2 separate regions of the Homo sapiens genome follow, and region 1 is linked to region 2. Evidence: promoter capture Hi-C in human tissues and cell types (Jung and others, 2019). All regions are on one chromosome and are shown on one strand. Each heading gives the region's core, a stretch centred on a gene start or on the middle of the fragment in contact. The rest is flanking DNA. Distances are from core to core; before and after follow the strand shown.

What was found. Contacts are between HindIII fragments. The study calls those that stand out against the background at their distance.
Region 1: a contact is called between a fragment that was not itself captured here and the fragment with the promoter of TTC34 in region 2, in 2 of the 25 tissues and cell types used here (H1 embryonic stem cells and dorsolateral prefrontal cortex).

Annotation. Positions count from the first base shown.
Region 1 is chr1:3,005,944-3,009,362 of GRCh38, reverse strand. No RefSeq gene overlaps it. Among named protein-coding and RNA genes, the nearest start is that of ACTRT2, 14 kb to the left of the region's middle. The HindIII fragment of the contact is 4,575 bases long and covers 1-3,419 here.
Region 2 is chr1:2,800,274-2,804,065 of GRCh38, reverse strand. TTC34 (tetratricopeptide repeat domain 34) reads left to right here and starts at 2,373. Exons shown (of 9, transcript NM_001242672.3): 1 at 2,373-2,489; 2 at 3,198-3,792. The coding sequence starts at 3,239. The HindIII fragment of the contact is 12,605 bases long and covers 1-3,792 here.

The DNA.
Region 1 (3,419 bases), core at 532-3,031, 210 kb before region 2:
AAGAGCCACATGTGAGCCAAGCTGAGCCACTCCAAGGAGCCGGCATTGCCTGTTGGAGCTTTGCATCATCCCCTAACTTTTTGCCCAGGGGCGCCATGCTCTGGGCCTCCTATGTGAGCAGTCAATAATTACCTTTCTCTTGAGGGATTCTGCCAATAACAGCTGTGGAGCAGCTGGTCCAGCTCCGTCATCCCACAGGAGGTGGGCATGGAAGGCTGGGCCAGGACATACCTCCTCCTTCTGAGTCTGCACACTCGGCTCCACGCAGTCACTCAGAGTCCAGGGGATGGGTACCATTGTGTTGTCCATGAGACAGATGTGGGAGGATCCTGCCTCTGCTTAAGTGACACATGTCACTTCTGCTCACACCTCATCAGGACGAGTCACATGGCCAAACCCACCTGTGTAGAAACCAGGAAGTGTGGGCGAGCAGAGAGCCAGCCTGGTGCACAGTCCTGAGCCTGCCCCACATGGGCTTGCCTGATTCCGTGGGACATGTCTATATAGCATATTTCTCCTTGTTCATCTGAAATTCAAATTTAACTGGGTGTCTTAGGCCATTCTTGCATTGCTATAAAGAAATACTCAAGACTGGGTAATTTATAAAGAAAAGAGGTTTAACTCATTCATGGCTCTGCAGACTTTACAGGAAGCATGGTGCTGGCATCTTCTCAGTTTCTGGGAAGACCTCAGGAAGCTTACAATCATGGCAGAGGGCAAAGGGGGAGCAGGCATGGCACATGGTGAAAGCAGGAGAAAGTGAGGGGCTGGAGGGGTGCCACACACTCTGAAATGACCAGATCTCATGTGAACTCAAAGCAAGAGCTCACTCATCACCAAAGGGATGGTCCAAGGCATTCATGAGGGATCCTCCTCCATGACCCAATCACCACCCATCAGGCCCCACCTCCAAGACTGGGGATTACATTTCAACATGAGATTTGGGTGGGGCCTTAAATTTAAACTATGTAAGTCCACCCCTGACCCCTCCACAATCTCATGCCCTTCTCACATTGCAAAATATAATCATGCCTTACAAACAGTCCCCCAAAGTCTTGACTCTAATTTCCGGTGTTAACTGAAAAGTTCAAGTCCCAAGTCCAAACTCTTATCTAGAGATGTTTTTTCCTTCTACCTATTAGTGTGTAAAATCAAAACAAGGTATTTACTTCCAGAATACAATAGAGGCAGAGGAACTGGATAAATGTTCCTATTCCAAAAAGGAGAAAAACTGACCAAAAGAAAGGGATTACAGTCCCCGTGAAAGTTGAAACCCAGAAGGGCAGTCATTAAATCTTAATACTACAAAATAATCTCCTTTGACTCCATGTCCCACATTGAGGACACACTGTGCAAGGGGTGGGCTCTTAAGGCCCTGGGGAGCTCCACCCCTGTGGCTTTGCAAGGTACAACCCCCACAGCTGCTTGCACAGGTCGTTGAGTGTCTGTGGCTTTTCTAGGTGTAGGAGGCAAGCTGTCAGTGGCTCTACCACTCTAGGGTCTGGAAGAGGATGGTTCCCTTCTCACAGCTCCACTAAGTACTGCCCCATTAGAGACTCTGTGTGGCAGCTCCAACCCCAGATTTCCCCTTAGCACTGCCCTAGTAGACGTTCTCTGTGAGGGCTCCACCCCTGCAGCAGGCTTCTGCATGGACATCCAGGCTTTTCCATACATCCTCTGAAATCTAGGCTTCCAAGCCTCAACTCTTGCACTCTGTGCACCTGCAGGCTTAACACCATGTGGAAGGCTTATGGCTTGCACCCTCTGGAGCTGCAGCCTGAGCTATACCTGGGCCCCTTTGAGCCCAGGCTGTACCCAGAGCTGCCAAGATGCAGAAAGCAGTGTCCTGAGGCTGCACAGGGTAGCGGGGCCCTGGGCCTGACCCACAAAATCATTTAGTCCTCATAGGCCTCAGGGCCTGTGATGGGAGTAGAGACCAGGAAGATCTCTGAAATGCCCTCAAGGCCTTTCTCCCATTGTCTTGGATATTAGCACTTGGCTCCTTTTTATTCATGCAAATTTCCCTAGCAAGTGGTTGCTCTGCAGCCTACTTGAATTCTTCTGTTGAAAAAGCTTTTTTTTTTTTTTTTTTGGTTTTTTTATTTGCCACATGGTCAGGCTGAAAATTTTCCAAATTTTTATGCTCTGTTTACCTTTTAAATATAAGTCCCATCTTTAAGTTACTCCTTTGCTTCTGCATCTGAGCATAGGCTGATAGAAGTAGCCAGGCTACATCTCAAGCATTTTACTGCTTAGAAATTTATCCTGCCAGATCCACTAAATCATTACTATGAAGTTCAAACTTCTACAGATCCCTAGGGCAGAACAGAAGGCAGCAACCAAGCTCTTAGCTAAGACATAACGTGTAATCTTTGCTCCATTTCCCAATACGTTTCTCATTTCCATCTGAGACCTTAGCAGCCTAGACTTCAGTGCTCATACTGCTATCAGCATTGTGGTCACAACCATTTTACCAGTCTCTAAGAAGTTCCAAACTTTCTTTCATCTTCCTGTCTTCTTCTGAGCCCTCAAAACTCTTTCAACTTGTCCCCATTACTCAGTTCCAAAGTTGCTTCCACATTTTCTGGTATCTTTATAGCAATACCCAACTCCTGGCACCAATTTTCTATATTAGGCAGGTTTTGCATTGCTATAAAGAAATACCTGAGACCAGATAATTTCTAAAGAAAAGAGGTTTAATTGGCTCATGGTTCTGCAGGATTTACAGGAAGCCTGATGCTGGCATCTGCTTGGCTTCTAAGGAGGCCTCAGGAAGCTTACAGTCATGGTGGAAGGTAAAGGGGGAGTAGGCATGTCACATGACCAGAGCAGGAGCAAGAGACAGAGTATTATGGGGAGAGGTGCCACATGCTCTTAAACAACCAGATCTCATGTGAACTCAGAACAAGAGCTCATTCATCACCCAGGGGATGGCCCAGGCTATTATTGAAAGATCCACCCGGATGATCTAAACACCTCCCACCAGGCCCCACCTCTAAGATTGAGGATTACATTTCAACATGAGATTTGGGCAGGGACATGCATTCAAACTATATCACTGGGCAGCCAGTATTGCTCAGCTTGTCCACCCTACCTATGTGGCCAGACTTCCACTGGTAAATTGCTATCTCTTAAGTATACAGTGATTGGTATGCACAGAGTTGGAGTTTTCCAAATATGGGCCTTTAAATACAGAGAAACATTTGATCAAACTAATCCGAATGGAGTTGTGGCTGCCCCTACCTGCCCAGGGTTGAAGGAAATACTCAAGGAAGTGCTTGGGGAGATGCTGGCTGAGCTGCCCTGCGGGGGTTGTGCTCCACCCCTCTCTGCATCCTTGCCAAAGACAGACAGGGCGCCTTCCAAAAGGGAATTCAACCTAAAAATGGAGGCTGACTCCTTCTCTCACTCCCCTCCCC
Region 2 (3,792 bases), core at 1,124-3,623:
CCCATGCACGGCCCTGTGAGCCATGAGCACATGAGGTCAGCCTCAAGGCCATCCCCGGCTCCCACCAAGTCAACTGTTTTCACTGCTGGCTTCAAGAACATTCTGGTGACAGGGCTCAGAGCTCTTCCCAGAGGGTGGCGTCTTTATCCCAGGCCTTCGGTGTGACTGGGACGGGTCCTGCCAGCTGCGGACTCTCCTAAGGGCATCTCTGGTGGGGACCATGTGCTCCTGCTCGGCCCCGGCGTGGGAACCAGGCCCTTTCATTTCTGCAAGTCTGAGTGCAAGGAGTGAGGGGGTCGTTGCTGGGTGCTGACTCGGAGTCCTGCCCCTCCCTCCACCCAGCCAGGTCCGACCACATAAACGGGGGCAGCCAAGCAGGCTCAGAGCAGGAGGAGCGGCTCCCAGGGCGTCGGAAGCAGCTCCTGGGCTCTTCGCAGGGGTCTGTAAGGACAAGTAGTTGTTGTGGGTCCAGTCAGGGCTGAATGCTTCCATCACCCTCAAACCCTGTTTCCCCCTGAAGCGTCAGATGAGCCAGCTCCCTACGCTGTCAGTGCGCTAATGGTCTTGAATGGGAAAGTGTGCAGAGGGCAAATGAGCAGTATCCCCCGCCCCCCGCTAGCCTCAAGTTGGAAATGTTGGAAATCCTTTTGACTCATAAACTAAAGCAGCACAAACCCGAACACGAGACCCTGAGACTACCAGGCACCGGCCTCGGCCTCCCTGTCCGGCTCAGCCGCCCACTTTTGTCTGTGGCAGAATCAGAGACGAGAGTGCGGATTGGGAGGTGGCGTGGAGGCGGCCCTGGGATTACCTGCATCCAGGTGTGCTGCTCTCAGGCAGGGGCTGTGATCATAGCTCGGGACCCTCCGAGACTTCCAGGCTCATCTGGCCAGTGCCTGTGGGCCCCGGGCAGGGCACTGTGCACAGGGCAGAGACGCAGGGGGCCCATCGGCACTGCTGTGATGGCAACTGTCGCGCAGACCTGCCACCTCTGTGCCCCGGGCTCTTCTACAGCCCTGGTGACAGCCCCACTCCATTACAGCTCTCGCCTAATTAGGGCAATTAAAATGAAAGTAATCAACACCGAGTAATGGGCAATCTCTTAATAAACTGCCCCCACTGCATTACCCGCACAGGCCTTGGGCCCTGGTGAATGTCATGGAGCTGAAGAACTGGGCCAGGCAGCCCCAGCCCTGCTGACCCCCCTGCCCTGCACCCTCAGACTGACCCTGACTGCTCTGCCCACGCTGCAGGGGCTCCACACCCTCCCCAAAGGGCCTGCGGGGCATGTCTCAGGAGACCCAGACATCGAGGGGATCAGGGATGCCACCCCCCACTCCCAAGATCTCCTCCCCCAAAGGGCACCCCCAACCCTGCTTCCCTGAGCCCCACAGAGGAGCCAGCATTGGCCTGGTGTCCGGGCACCTTGGCATCCTGAATTGGGAGGGACCTCTCTCAGGGACGCACCACCCCCATTCCCCCCACTCATGCCTGCCCTCCAGGGCAGCTGCCGGTGGTGGGGTCTCAGCTTCAGGGACCTGAGCCTGCCTCCAGCCACCCCACTCAGTCTTTCTGCTCCTGCGGCATGGGCTGACGGTGGCCACGGGCTGAAGGTGATGTTTCCTAAAATAGTCCCTATGCTGCCACCCCTTCCTCAGCAACAATCAGGGTCCCTGGGCAGTAGGCTCAGGTCATGGCTCCCAGAGCTGCCTCTGGGCCTCAACCCTGTGATGGGGGAGGGGTGTGCCCTCGGCTAATGTGCCCTGCCCTCCCCAGGGCACAGCTGGCTCAGCTGGTGCAGGCAGGACAGGGCTGCCTAAGCCTCTCAGAGGGAGGACGGCCAAGGGAAATGGGCTGGCTGTGCACGGAAGGTCCAGTCCCAGCTGCCGGCACAGGGAACAGCCTGTGGGGAGGTGCCCCAGGACCGGGTGACAGGGCCCTGCCAGAAGAGGAGTGAGGCTGGGCGGTGAGGGGCCCGCATAGCAGCCCAGGCGGAGTTCTGGGGGACAAACCCAGAGCCTGAGTGCACTGGGTGGGCAGGCGGCCCCCACCTGCCTCCAGGAAGCGCCCTCCTCATCTATGTGGAGAGGAGGCTGGGGGCACCCTGGCAGAGCAGGCAGGGTGGAGGCTGGCCCCGGCTATGGGGGGCTGTACCCCACAGGCCCCTTCTCCCCCAACACCCCCATGAACTCAGGGTTCTCTGCTCTGAGGCAGCCCATTGGAGCCTGGCTGGGGCAGTGTGGGTGGGACCTCGGCCTGGTAGCCTCTGGCCACAGCGGGGCGCTGCAGGACAGCCAGGAGACCCAAGGGTGTTGACACTCTCCCGGGAAACCGCAGGCTGTGCCTTCCCCAACCCACACGGGGCGGTCATAGGAGCCCCACCCAGGCCTGGGCCCTCCAGCCAGCCACATCCCTCTGTCCCCCACCACCCACGAGGGAATCTGGGTCCCCAGGGCACAGCCGGCTCAGCCTCCAAGCTGCAGACGAGTGTGAGTGTGTCTGTGTGTGTCTGAGAGCGGATGCTGGGGGCTGCCTGTTTGATGAGGGAAGAAAGGGCTGTGCGGAGCTAGTTCGTCAGGTCAAGTAGCTTGGGGACAGGGAATAGGGGAGTACCAGGGGCTGTCCCTGGAACCTCAACCTCAAAACTGAACCCCCCCACCCATGGGCTGGGGTGGCTCCCCCGACCCAAGGGCCTGGCAGGTGCTCTCGGCGCCCCCCTCGAATGGCCCAGGTGTGAGAGGGTGGGCAGGGGTGTGGTCCTGCGTCCCACTGAGAGGGCTGCCTGGACTGACGGGGGGTGTGCCTTCCTGAGGGGCTCAGGGTTGGGAGGGGCAGAGGGTGGGTCCGGGGTTCCTATTGCTGGGCCCTGACACCTCGGGCCACCGTAACCCTCCCGACATGGACACTCAGGGGTCAGATGTTCTTAGAGGGAACTGAGCTGGGGGAGGCCACTGTCCCATTCTGCAAGGCACGAAACTGAGGCCCCAGAGGTGAACAGTGGGCTGGAAGTTGGCCTGGGACACCTGGTAGGCCCCACCCCACCAGCCCAGGATCCCCCCAGTTTTCACCCAGTGGGGTCTGCACTGACCGTGGGGTCAATGGGAAGGGGTGGAGGTGGCTTGAGGCTGGGCACGGGTGGCCACAGGGCAGGAGAACTGGCCGCCCTCTGTGGACTCACCATGCTCCCCCACCCCCAGGTACTCTGAGGACCAGACATGGGCCCGTCGGGGTCCCAGACATGATGTCAGCCCAGGAGCTCGTGGCCTGCCTCTGCCGGGAGGGGGAGCAGCATCTGGCGCTGGGGGAGCTGCCCCTGGCCACCGCCTTCTACCTGGCTGCATTCAGCTGCCACGCCCCCTCAGCCCTGCAGAGTGTGCGCACTGCCCTGGCCCAGGCTCGGGGGGCGGCGGTGGTGGCCACCCTGGAGTCCTGGTGCCGCGGGGACAGCCAGATCCCCGCCATCCACTGGGACGGCATGGCAGTGGTCTCCCTGACAGGGTCGCTGGCCTCTGCCTTCCTCGGCGCCCTCTGCCCGGACCACCCCGCCGCCATCCTGCACCTGCTGGCAGGTCTGCTGGCCCGCGGGCGTCACGAAGAAGTGGTGCAACGCTGCAGCGCCCTGCTGGACTCTCATGCACAGCAAGTCCTGGAGCTGCGGCTGACCCGCGCCCTCGCCTGGGTCCTGTCCGGGGTGCAGGCAGCGGATGGTGTGGCCGCCTATCTCCAGGCCTTCGCCTCCAGCGCCGACCGGACGGTAGCTTTCATTCGCACCCACCAGCGGCCCCACCTCCC